Linked DNA regions of Homo sapiens: region 2 is linked to region 1. Evidence: promoter capture Hi-C in 16 types of primary human blood cells and fetal thymus (Javierre and others, 2016). All regions are on one chromosome and are shown on one strand. The core of a region is centred on a gene start or on the middle of the fragment in contact, and the rest is flanking DNA. Distances in the headings are between cores, read along the strand shown.

What was found. The method cuts DNA at HindIII sites, captures the fragments that hold promoters and counts their contacts. A CHiCAGO score of 5 or more calls a contact.
Region 2: a contact is called between a fragment that was not itself captured here and the fragment with the promoter of ANXA11 in region 1, in 2 of 17 cell types (non-activated CD4 T cells and total CD8 T cells). The highest score is 7.1, in non-activated CD4 T cells.

What each region holds. Positions count from the first base shown.
Region 1 is chr10:80,201,785-80,207,383 of GRCh38, reverse strand. It overlaps ANXA11 (annexin A11), which reads left to right and starts at 1,847. Exons shown (of 16, transcript NM_145868.2): 1 at 1,847-2,041. RefSeq lists enhancers at 1-207, 1-437, 208-849, 3,489-3,568, 4,069-4,158 and a silencer at 1,624-2,503. The HindIII fragment of the contact is 13,979 bases long and covers 1-5,599 here.
Region 2 is chr10:84,329,280-84,335,640 of GRCh38, reverse strand. All of the region lies in intron 1 of CCSER2 (coiled-coil serine rich protein 2), which reads right to left. Among named protein-coding and RNA genes, the nearest start is that of CCSER2, 3.9 kb to the right of the region's middle. RefSeq lists enhancers at 1,635-1,684, 5,032-5,111, 6,159-6,361. The HindIII fragment of the contact is 3,038 bases long and covers 2,741-5,778 here.

The DNA of each region.
Region 1 (5,599 bases), core at 598-3,097:
TCATGTCCAAAAAATGCAGTCCAGCCCCGAAAGAGAGCCGCGCCTGCTGGTGGGGGTAGGGGGTGTTGGAGCGGCCACGGAATATGACTGAGCGCCCGGGGCCCGTTGTGAGGCCGGGGCCAGGCTGTCCCAAGGCACCGTTCCTGCCCGGCACCAGCACACCTGCCCAGACAGGGAGAAGGTCGGAGCCTCCCCTCCAGTCCTTCCGGATTTTATTGTTCAGAGCGACTTTAAAACGCAAATCGGGCCGGGCGCGGTGGCTCACGCCTGTAATCCCAGCACTTTGGGAGGCCGAGGCGGGCGGATCATTTGAGCCTAGGAGTTCGAGAACAGCTTGGCCAACATAGTGAAACCCCGTCTCTACTAAAAATGAAAATTAGCCGGGCGTGGTGGTGGGCATCTGTAGATCCAGCAACTCAGGAGGCCGAGGCAGGAGAATCGCTTGAACCCGGGAGGCGGAAGTTGCAGTGAGCCGAGATCGCGCCACTGCACTCCAGCCTGGGCGACAGATCGAGACTCCGTCTCAGAAAAAAAAAAAAAAAAAGGAAAATCGAACCAGCAGCTTGTTTGTAACAGCCAAACATAGGCAACAACCTAAATGTCCTTCAGTAAGGAGCTAGGTAATGAAGAATGGTGAAGCGCACGATGGCGCGCAGTGTGCAGTGGATGGGAAGAACCAGGTCTGTTCAGGAGCACTTGTATGGAAAGACCCTCCAAGATATAGTGAGTAAAAAAACATGTTGCAGAAAAGTACTGCAATATCGTTTTGTAAACAATACGTTTATGTAAACACACACACACAGTGTTAAAGAGAGATATTTGGAAGGACACACCTAAGAGTGGGCTGGGGGAGTGGAGGGAAGAGTGAATCTCAATTTTTACTCATTTTTTGAATTTTTTATTTTTAGTTTTTTAGAGACTGGGTCTCACTATGTTGCCCAGGCTAGTCTGGAAGCCCTGTCTTCAAGCCATCCTCCTGTCTTGGCCTTCCAAAGTGCTGAGATTACAGGCGTCAGCCACCACTCATTAAAAAAAAAAATTGTATACCTACCATATATGCATATATTACCTGGGTGACCTTTTAAAAATATGCTTTATTTTTAGAACATCTTTAGATTTACAGAAAAAGTGTGAATACAGGGAATTCTCATAAACCCGGGCTTTTCCTATTATTAACATCTTAAGTCATTTTTATATCTCCGTGGGTTCCTCTTGGCTGTGACAGTGTCCTAGACTTTCCTTGTTTTTGATGACCTTGCTAGTTTTCAGGAGTACTGGTCATGTATATGGCAAGGGCCTCAATTGATTTGTGATGTTTTCCTCATGATTACAGTGGGGTTAGGTGTTCTTGGGAGGAAGACCACAAGCGGTGCATGCAATCAGTATGATTTACCCCTGTCGAGGTCACCTTGACGGCTGGGTGGTTTGTCAGGTTTCTCCACGATAGTCACTGACCGCTCCCTTCCTCACATACTGTGCGTGACCTTCCCCCCTCCACCACCACCGAGTGTTGCTATAAAGGAAATGCGTTTGACCTTTTCAGTGTAAAAAGTTTTCTCGACCTTAAAGAGAGTCACTAACCGACGCACACGGGGCTGGAGAGGACTTAGGAAATGCCCACCCCTGCAGGAGGGCGAATGCGGCTCTGCGCGGCACTGGGCGCCGCAGGGGTTAGGGGCGGCAGAGGGACCTCCGGAGCCCGAGACTTCCTGGAGCAGCTCCGCAGCCGGAAGGCTGCTGCTCCTCGCGGGCCCGCCGTGCCCAGTCCTCATCTTGGGGGCGGGGCCGCGCTCAGGCCCCGCCCCTCCCTTGCACTGCCTCTGGCACCTGGGGCAGCCGCGCCCGCGGAGTTTTCCGCCCGGCGCTGACGGCTGCTGCGCCCGCGGCTCCCCAGTGCCCCGAGTGCCCCGCGGGCCCCGCGAGCGGGAGTGGGACCCAGCCCCTAGGCAGAACCCAGGCGCCGCGCCCGGGACGCCCGCGGAGAGAGCCACTCCCGCCCACGTCCCATTTCGCCCCTCGCGTCCGGAGTCCCCGTGGCCAGGTGAGTGAGGGTCCCGAGCCGGCTGGGGGCCTGGGACCAGGCGGCGGCAGTGCACCGCGGCGCCGCGGGTGAGGCCCGGGGCTGCCTGGCGCCCAGCCCAGCGCGGCCCTGCGGCTTCCTGGTTGCACTACAGGCGTGGGGGTGGGGGGCAGGGGAGGGCGTCGGCGGGTCGCGGGCGGGCCGTGTCGGCCTGGCAGCCCCCTAGATCAGCCTCGGCGTCTGGGGCTGCTCCCTCATGTGTGGTCGGGGTGCACTCGCCGTCCCCCCGGGCTCAGGGGTCGGGGTCTCAGTCTGGGCCTGGGTAGGGCCAGGGGCCGTGACCCTGGGCGCAGGAGGCAACGGGTGGCGGGAGGGGTGCCGGAGGCCCGGCCCCGCAGCCCTGCGGAGCCCTCCAGGGTGCGCGCGCCCTTCTAGGCGAGGCTTGGGGAGATTAAGCAGAGAAGGCTATCTTCAGGAACTTTCCTCCGAAACTGGGAGCACGCACATTCCTGGGAGCTGCTACCATTGCAGTTTATTTGTAAGGAACTCTCCCCAGTGTTTGAGGGAATGCGGGAGCCATCCCAGGTGCTGTGCGTGCCTTCGCCCCTTCCCCAACCTTGATCCCCAGTTTCAGGAAGGGATTCCTGGACTTGTATCTCCCATGGGTGCAGGCCAGGCCCTTAAGACTTAGGTAAAATGGTCTGTTGGTTTAAAGGAGACACGCGAAGTTTGTTACCTAGAGACTTTGGAGGGGAAAAGTTAAGCCAGCCAGTGCTAGCCCAAGCTGGAAACAGTCAGCCCGGGGCATTTCTGTCTCTGCCCTCCAATCCTTGACCTCTCTGTAGAGATTCGGCGTTTGTGGTAGCTCTCCCCTCTGTTCTCTGCGCTGGGCATGGAGTGGAGCTGTGAGGCCGAGCCCCTGCCCTGCCCTGCCCTGCCCTGCCCACGCAACAGGGACTAGGTTTGCAGGGCAGGGCCTGGTATGCTCACCCTTCACTGGCTCTCATTGCTTTCCTCATTCCTTTTATGCGGCAGTCAATTGTTGGGGATTCCAGGGGATTAACAGGGCCCCTTTCCTCAAGGCATTCTTTGTGCTGCAAGGTGTTCCCTGATAAGAGAGGCCAGGTGAGGTGCCAGGGCAGTTTGTTGCCCTGGCATTGGGTGCCCACTACTTCAGGCTCCTGCATACCTTGCTATCTTTTCTTTGACTATTGTCTGTGCTTTGGTTTTTCATCTGTAAAATGGGGGTAATAGTAATCCCTGCCTCACAGGCTTGTGAGATTCAGTGCATTCATTTATTTAATAACAATACAGAGCTCAGGTACGGACCAGTCAGAACAGGTGGTGACTGCTGCACCACACTTGTGTATCCCAGATGGGTGTCACCCACATTAGCCATAAAGTGTGTGAGGCAGGCCTGGGTCATAAATAATCAGGTGTAAGGGTCAATAAATAGTAGCAGTGGAAGGTTCAGCTAAAGTTGAAATGCACTTCTCCTGAACCGTCTTTCTGGCTTAGCTCATGCTAAGCTCATGCTCTCTGTCTTACTGGAATGCCCTCCCTCCCCTGTCTGGCCTAGCATTCTCCACCCTCCTGGGAGCCATCCGGGTGCCTGCTCCCAGCAGGAGGGACGGGATATGCTCTGAGCTCACTCAGCCCTTCTGGCACTGACTCGGTTCTCATCTCTCGCCTTGCATAGTATTTGTGTGGCGGTGTGGCTTATCGCTGCCCTGTCCTCTGACTCTGGAGGGTGGGGGCTGTTTCTGACTTACCTCTTGGTGGCAGCACTCAGGATGGGCCTTGCCTAATGTAGGTGCTCAGAAAATTAGTTGTCGTTAGTTGAACAACAGAGACAGCACAGGGAAGTGGTTTCCCTGTGGTTAAAATATAGGACCTTGAAGGCTGGGTTTGGATAGAGAAACGTGGGGAGGGTGAGATGGAGATGAATTGGGACTAAGAGGTGGGAGTGGAAGCCTCACCTGACGCCTTTATGCATGATACTATAGAAAGGGCCCACCCTGGGTGGATGTGTCTAGAAGGCCAGGATCGATTAGTGATGCCTAGTTCACGTGATTGGGGAGGTGATGTGTGGCTTGGGATGACAGGAGTGGGAGTTGAGACAGAATAGGTTAGTGTGGGTTCTTCTTGGAAATTGTAGAATAGAGAAAAGAAACTGGTGTGGGCAGGAGCTGAATGTGGAACCAAAATGCATGCTGAATGCTGGAACATCAGAGGTCCTGGGACCTTTCTGGTGCACCCCCTCCTTCCTCCTGGATTCACCCCTCTTCTTCTGCTGTCTTTTTTTTTTTTTTTTTTTTTGAGACAGATTTCGCCCTGTCACCCAGGCTGGAGTGCAGTGATGCAATCTTGGCTCACTGCAACCTCCGCTCCCTGGGTTTAAATGATTCTCCTCCCTTGGCCTCCCGAGTAGCTGGGATTACAGGCATGCACCACCATGCCCGGCTAATTTTTGTATTTTTAGTAGAGACGGGGCTTCACCATGTTGGCCAGGCTGGTCTTGAACTCCTGACCTCAGGTGATCTGCCTGCCTCAGTCTCCCAAAGTGCTGGGATTACAGGCATGAGTCACCGTGCCCGGCCTCCTCTCTCTTCTTAGCCACTGTTTTCCCCCGTAAGCCTGAAGCAGTTCCTGGCACTTGTTCCCATGGGGAAGCGTCTGTGTAAGGGTATGCTTCACCAGCACTGCCAAGGAAGTAGACTTTTCACTTTCTCTGGATTTTTCTCTGCAACACCCTCTGATCCCATTGCCCCCAGAATAGTAGGAATTTTGAGTGATACCTAGATAGGAAAGCTCTTAGGATTAATGAAGAAACTGAGATTTTCTTGGTGGGAGTTTGTGCTTTTAAAGGGAGTTGTTGCAATTCAATGGAACTCTGTAATAACCACTGAAACTGTTACACATTAGGCTTACTGACCCTATCTCCTATAACCCATGAAATAAAGACCTGATAGTCACATAGTTGTTTGCTATTTGGGAGGATCCTAAAAGTACAGCCTGAACAGTGACCCAAACCACAGCTGGCCTTGCCCATGCTGATGTGAGGAAGGAATGGGTGGGGGCAACTAAGAAATTGGGGGACAGAGTTCTCTGTGCTAGGTATCCTAGGACAAGCCACCCAGCCACACAGAGACCCCCCGCTTCCCCCCCACAGAACAGTTCTGGATGATAAAATGCCTGCCTGGAATGGAGAATCAGATGAGAAGATGTTTGCAAAGGGGTTTGAGATCAGTTAGCGGGTGGTGATGACAATGTTGATACCGTGGGTGTGTGACTGCCAGGAGCTGTGAAGCAGAGGGTGGAGTGTGCGGTGGTCAAAGCCTGGTTCTGGGATCTCTAGCTTTCCAGGGGCTTAGGCTCCGCCTTAGCAGAAAAGAAGGAAAGGAAATTGAGAAGGAAGTCAGGTGTCCCCTGCCCCTCACACTTGGGGATGGCTGACTTGGAGGACATGAGATGGGGGAAATCTGAGTGAGGGCAGAGAAGAGAAATGTGGAGGCTGCTCACAGGGAGGCTAGGGAGCATATGGCATATCCAGCCTGGGGAGTGGCACCACTGGGGGAA
Region 2 (6,361 bases), core at 3,010-5,509, 4.1 Mb before region 1:
GTTTTGCAATCTTGACATGGGGGCAGTGTTGGGGAGGAGGGTAGGCAACTCAAAAAAACAGGACTGGAATTTAATTTTGCATTTTAAAGAAAAGCAGGGCCAGTTGTGGTGGCTCACACCTGTAATCCCAGCACTTTGGGAGGTAAAAGCAGGAGGGTCATTTGAGCCCAGGAGTTTCAGCCCAGCCTGGGTAACATGGGGAGACCCTGTCTCTATGGAAAATTTTTAAAATTAGCCAGGCATGGTGGTACATGCCTGTAGTCCCAGCTACAGGTTGAGTACAGGTTGGGAAGCCAAGGCAGGAGGATAGCTAGAGCCCAGGAGGTCAAGGCTGCAGTGAGCCATGATGACACCACTGCACTCCAGCCTGGGTCCAGAGACCCTGTCTCAAAAAAAAAAAAAAAAAAAAAAAGAGAGAGAGAGAAGTAGAATGCTGGGGAACAGAAAACACTTGCTCAGATACAAGATGTCACTGGGCTTTTCAATACCAGGCACCAAAAGAGAGATCACAGAAGGACCAAAACCCTGAGATGCCCATCGTTCCTCAGCTAAAGAGCCATGCCTTGCATTTCTATTCTCACACACAGAACTCAAGATACAGGGTAGGAGACCATGCCAAAGTGAACAGCTGGGAGCAGCGATGGCAGGGAGGAGAGCAGTAACAACTACCATAACAAAGGGAAGGAAGGAGTAATCCCTCATGCTTTTTCTCTTTTCCCTTTCCCACTGTCCTTATCAAGGACAGAAACAGGGTAGATGAAAACAGGAGAAGGCAGAGAACAGAGGGTAAGGATGGCCTGAAGCAAATGGTTGTAGAAAAAAATCAATAGCAAATTCCTTTACCAAGTAACTCTTTGAAAAACAGACATATGAAGTAAGTTAGGAGCTGACCAAGAAAATTTAAAACAAGCCCCTGTCTTACGTAGCTATAAAGTACAAAGAAAACAGAGATTCTTAATTATTTGGAATAATCTGTGGCATTTTTAAGACCAACAGTCTTCAAAGATGATCCAACTATACTGAAACTAAGCTACTGATCAACTTGAAAAAATAAACAGGTAAAAAACTTCAGTGCTCATGGATCCAACCTTTAAGAATCCTCTGGCTTCCCAATGGCTCCAAACCTTAATATAATCAACCAGAAGTCTTTAAAGGTAGAGAAGTAACTCTAGGACATTCCAAACCAATCAACTCATCAGAGAAGAGCTAAAAACTCAGAAATTACATCTCACATACTATGATTGGTCAATTCACTTAAAAAGAAAGGACTGTTCTCATTGGTTGATCTCAATAGGCTGAATCACACCCCAGCATCAGCACCTGTAGCAAGCAGAAGTCAGAAGCCAAAGAGGCAGAAAGCCATCAGATACTCAGAGAAAACTTAAGTAGTCAATAACAACGGAAAGACAAGTTCACCCTATACAACCACAATCAGCTTATGACAGCAGGGCACACCAACCACAACTGTTTGTAGCCTGAGGTGGCAGCATTCTACATGCTCATGTCTGTGCTAATACTTCCCTACCCCTCTGCCTCCTCCCTGATGGCTCTTCCCCCATCCTCCCTGACAGCTGTCACATTCTAGAGCTACTCTTCCTCCACCCACTCTTTCATTTTGGTAATTTGGTGTTTCCCAGTTCAGTCTCTTGACCTTTCTGTATTATTTCATCCTATATTCACTCATTCCTCTACTCAGTCCCTATCTTTGACAAGCACACAATCCAGTGGGGGAGACAGATATGTTACTAGAATAGGTACAATACATCACAGTCAACGCTGTGAAAGAAATATAACAAAGTGCTGTGAGCACATATTCATCTGTCATTACCCCACTCAATGTCTTCCAAATCAATACACTGCCTTCCCACTCTGTTGTGTATCAGTTACTAATTCCTATATATTTCCAAAATATCCCGATCTCCACTTCCACCTCAAGGTTTAGCCTTCATTTCTCACATGAATATTTCAACCACTTCCTATTATAAACATAATTCAATATATAGCCACATTGTCACATGAGCAATCTCCCTAAAAGAGATAACATACCATATCATCCCCTTGCTTTGCAACACCTAATCTTTCCAATGTCTAAGAAATGAAGTCCAAATCCTTGGCATGGATAATAAGATAATACTTTTGAAATAGCATCTTTTAAAAGCAGGCTGACTGAGTTCCAGTTCCAATGCTTACTACCTATGTTATCCTTGGCAGGTCACAGTCTCTATATTTTCATATCCACAAAATGAGGATACTAAAAGAACCTACCTCCTAGGGTTGCTGTGAAGATTAGGTAAGAAACTCCATGCCAAGAACCAGCAAAACACCCAGCACTCAATGTTAACTATTATCCTGGGATGTCTCATCTATCTAGAATGGGAGTAACCTGCTCCCCAGTGGGAGCAGATTACTAAGGTTTCCTTTCATATATTTTAGAATGATTAGCAATAAGAGTTAAAGACAACCCTCTGGTTAATCTTGAACAGACAAAAATTTCAATTAACCAATATATTGCTGTCATAAAAATGTTAGTTTAACTAAAACTTACCATAATTTATTAAAAAACAAGTACACATTTGTATTAAAGTTAGGTTATTTTGTTTTCCTATTTAAGTTCAGAAAAAAGAATGAAAACATAATAATGTAGTTTTCTATAATATAAAATACACATAAATGAAATTTTATCTCAGTTGTATATTAACTTTCCAAATATATATACATAACAAAATGAATTCTAGAAGCTTAAGAAAATAAAAGTATGCATCAAACAGGTACATGGCATTCATTCTCAAAAAACACAATCAAAGGACAAAAATCACTGACTTTTTTCTTTTATCTTTTTTCTTTAAAATAGAGATGGGGGTCTCACTATGTTAACAGCCCAGGCTGGTCTTGAACTCCTAGGCTCAAGCGATTCTCCCGCCTCACCCTCCCAAAGTGCTGAGATTACAGGTGTGATCCACCACACCCAGCCACACTGATTTTTTAAAAAAATATATAATATAGGGATTACCCCATCTCTATTAAAAATACAAAAATTAGGCAGGCGTGGTGGCGCGTGCCTGTAGTCCCAGCTACTGGGGAGGCTGAGGCAAGAGAATCGCTTGAACCCAGGAGGCAGAGGTTGCAGTGAGCCGAGATGGCACCGCTGCACTCCAGCCTGGCAACAGAGCAAGACTCTGTCTCAAAAAAAAAAAAAAAAAAAAATATATATATATATATATATATATAAAAAAATAAATTTAATAATATAAAATCTATAAAGCCTACAATAAGAAAAAATAGATCAGAAATGTTTTTCAAGAGATTAATATATTTATGATGTTAGTGCTAATGAAAATTGGTGAGAAGATTCCAATAAATTTATGGACGATGGACAAATAAAGGAGAAAATAAAACTAGAAGAATACTGCATTTGCTTGTCTATTATGGACTATGATGTTAAACTGCAAGGAACCTTATCCTCATTTTTAAAAAACAAACTTTTAAAAGCAAAAACCTATAAAGTATGATAGAAATGGTCAACCAAACTCTACTGGAGTCTGTAAATCAATATCTTTTAGAAGTAAATCTAGTAATATTTTTCAGAATTAACAAAACCTTCATACCCTCTGACTTTGTAATACTGCTCCTGGGCCTTTAGCCCAAAGGGAAGAAGCAAAATGATAAACAGCTATATACTAACGGCATTATCTGCAAAATAGTAAACAATCTAGATGTCCAATTATTAAGAAATGACATTGTAACACTGTATAATCATCTAAAGGTATAAAAACTATAGCAAAAATAAAACATCAAATATGAAAGCAAATATTAAGCATTATGTGTATGCTTTATCATATAAAACCACTGATATGACAAGAAATAAGAAGAAAAATTAAGTTTGTTTTGATTTTTAAAATTTCTTTGACCATTGTTTGTAAGATAAAAAGCCTTTTGGAATTGGTCAGGCCCACACCACTAAGTACACATTTCAACTTTTTAGAGACAGCCACAATCATCAATTTTTTCCCCCAAAATCCTATCACATAGGAGTAAGATAGGCTCCTCTCACAGACAAGCCACACAAGTAATTTTAGCCATGCTATTAGCCAGCTGCAACCTTCTTATATTAAAATCTCATTGTACCATCAAAACTTAACTGTATGTGAGATGTCCATATGGTGATCAGAAGCCACTTGTTATGGGGCATCTGGAGAGAGCGCCCCAAGCACTGAAGTTAAAACTATCTGGCTGAGAGGAATAGTGAAGGTTAGGTTTCTCCCATATCCCCAAATGAATTATCATGTTTCTCAGCCACAAGGGTTCTAAGTCCCTAGGAGTGGCAGCCATGTATTCAAAGAGGGAGAAAGTGCAAGCAGATTTGCACTCCCTCTGAAAAACTGGCAGCTCCTTCATTTCACCCCAAAGCACCATGGAGTAGTGAAAAACACACAATGATGAGGTCAGGAGATATGAGATGTAGGTGAGCCTAAGCAATCTCAAACAAGTTGTCTTTTTAGGCTGAGTTGTTTAACCGTAAAATTTTTAAAGTTGAACCAAATAATCTGTTAATTCTTTCAAGTTCAATATTCTATTGACCCTTTTTTCAGAACACATCCAAGTCGCTCACAACTCCCATTCAAATTGTAAAACAATTAAGATTTAGAATTAGGAGACTGGGGGCAAAAGTGAAATACACAGATGGTCAAAAGACCTGGACTGTAATCCCCGCCATCCCTTTCTACCTGCGTGACTTTGCGCCTCAAAATAAAGTTGTAGGACCAATGAAGCAGCAATCTTTATTGGTCATGCCCTTTTTATTCCTGTATCATAAAATGGATTTTTTTTAACATAACTGGGGTTTCATTCCTAACCAGCCTACAATCCCAGCACTTTGGGAGGCCGAGGTGGGCGGATCACGAGGTCAGGAGTTTGAGACCAGTCTGGCCAACATACTGAAACCCGTCTCTACTAAAAAAAAATTAGCCAGGTGTGGTGGTGTGTGCCTATAATTCCAGCTACTCAGGAGGCTGAGGCAAGAGAATCGCATGAACCCAGGAAGCAGAAGTTGCAGTGAGCCGAGATGAGGCCATTGCACTCCAGCCCAGGCCACAGTGCAAGACTCTGTCTCAAAAAACACAAAAGAAACCCCAAAACCTGGTGGAGACAGACACATAAACAAATCATTAACTACCAGTTGACAAATACTAACTGGAGAGTGTACGAATCAGTTAAGACAAGAGGGATGAAATGTCTAGACAAGCCTCAGAAGTGCTACTTTCGTAAGGTCTTCAAGGGCAAGTTGTTTACTAGGTAGAGAATTCTCAACAAAGAACACTGAAAAACCACAGAGGAAGATGTCATCTTCAGAGAACTGCAACAGTCTTATATAGAGAGGGCAGGCATAATGGTAGAAGATGACACTAGAATGGAGACAAATACCGCTAATCATGAAGGACTTTGAATTTTATCGATATAGACTATGGAGAGTCACTGAAGGACTTGTAAATATGGATTCAAAGTCCCTTCCTCCAAAATAGTCAAAGGAGTTGAGTCAAAGCAACAAAAAATGCAGGTCTGAATGTGGAAAGGTAGAATTTTTACAGAATTCTTAATAGAGACTTTCGGCTTGCTTTCAGGATGGCTTCTAGTGCTTTCTTAACTATGGCTTATGCTGAAGTACGACAGTATGAATTATGGCTAAAGGGTTCAACAAAGTGTGCATTTTTAACCTGAAGATTATTTGAAGCCAATGTTGTTTAGAACACAAACGAAAACAAAAAATAACAGTAACAAGCTTTCATAAATTAAGAGAAACAGTAATAAAGTCCAAGAGGAAGAAGACTGATTTCAGGCAAACACTCAGGAATATTTACATTTTTATCACATATGGATGACGGATAAGACATGTTTTGAACCCATCTTTTGCAGGAGAGCATCTTAAGTTCCTTTTGGTTAAAGAGCAGCTGCCATCTCTAAAGTCTCTAGTCTAAAAGATGATGCTTTAAAAAAAACAACTGGCCAAATGAATAGGTTCCGTCATATTTTAATGCTCAGGAGAAAAGGAATGCTTTTCATATGGCTATTTTAAAAAGCTTAAAGCTCAATTTCTCTCTTACAGGAGTGAGCTACCAACACTCTAATCTGAGACCAGAGTCCCTGCGTCAGTCATTTCCACTCCGCTAAGGCCTTGTCTGGGAGCAGCCAGCCTCATTGGTCGGGGAGCCCACACAGATGAATATGCAATTACTGAAATGGAAACAAGCTTCGCCACCAAGGACCACCACAAAGGAGTCCCTTCATTCCTCCTTTTACTTTATCAAGAAAGTAGGTGCATTATTTAAAAATGTATGAAAATACATGTCTAAAGACAAGAGAGAAG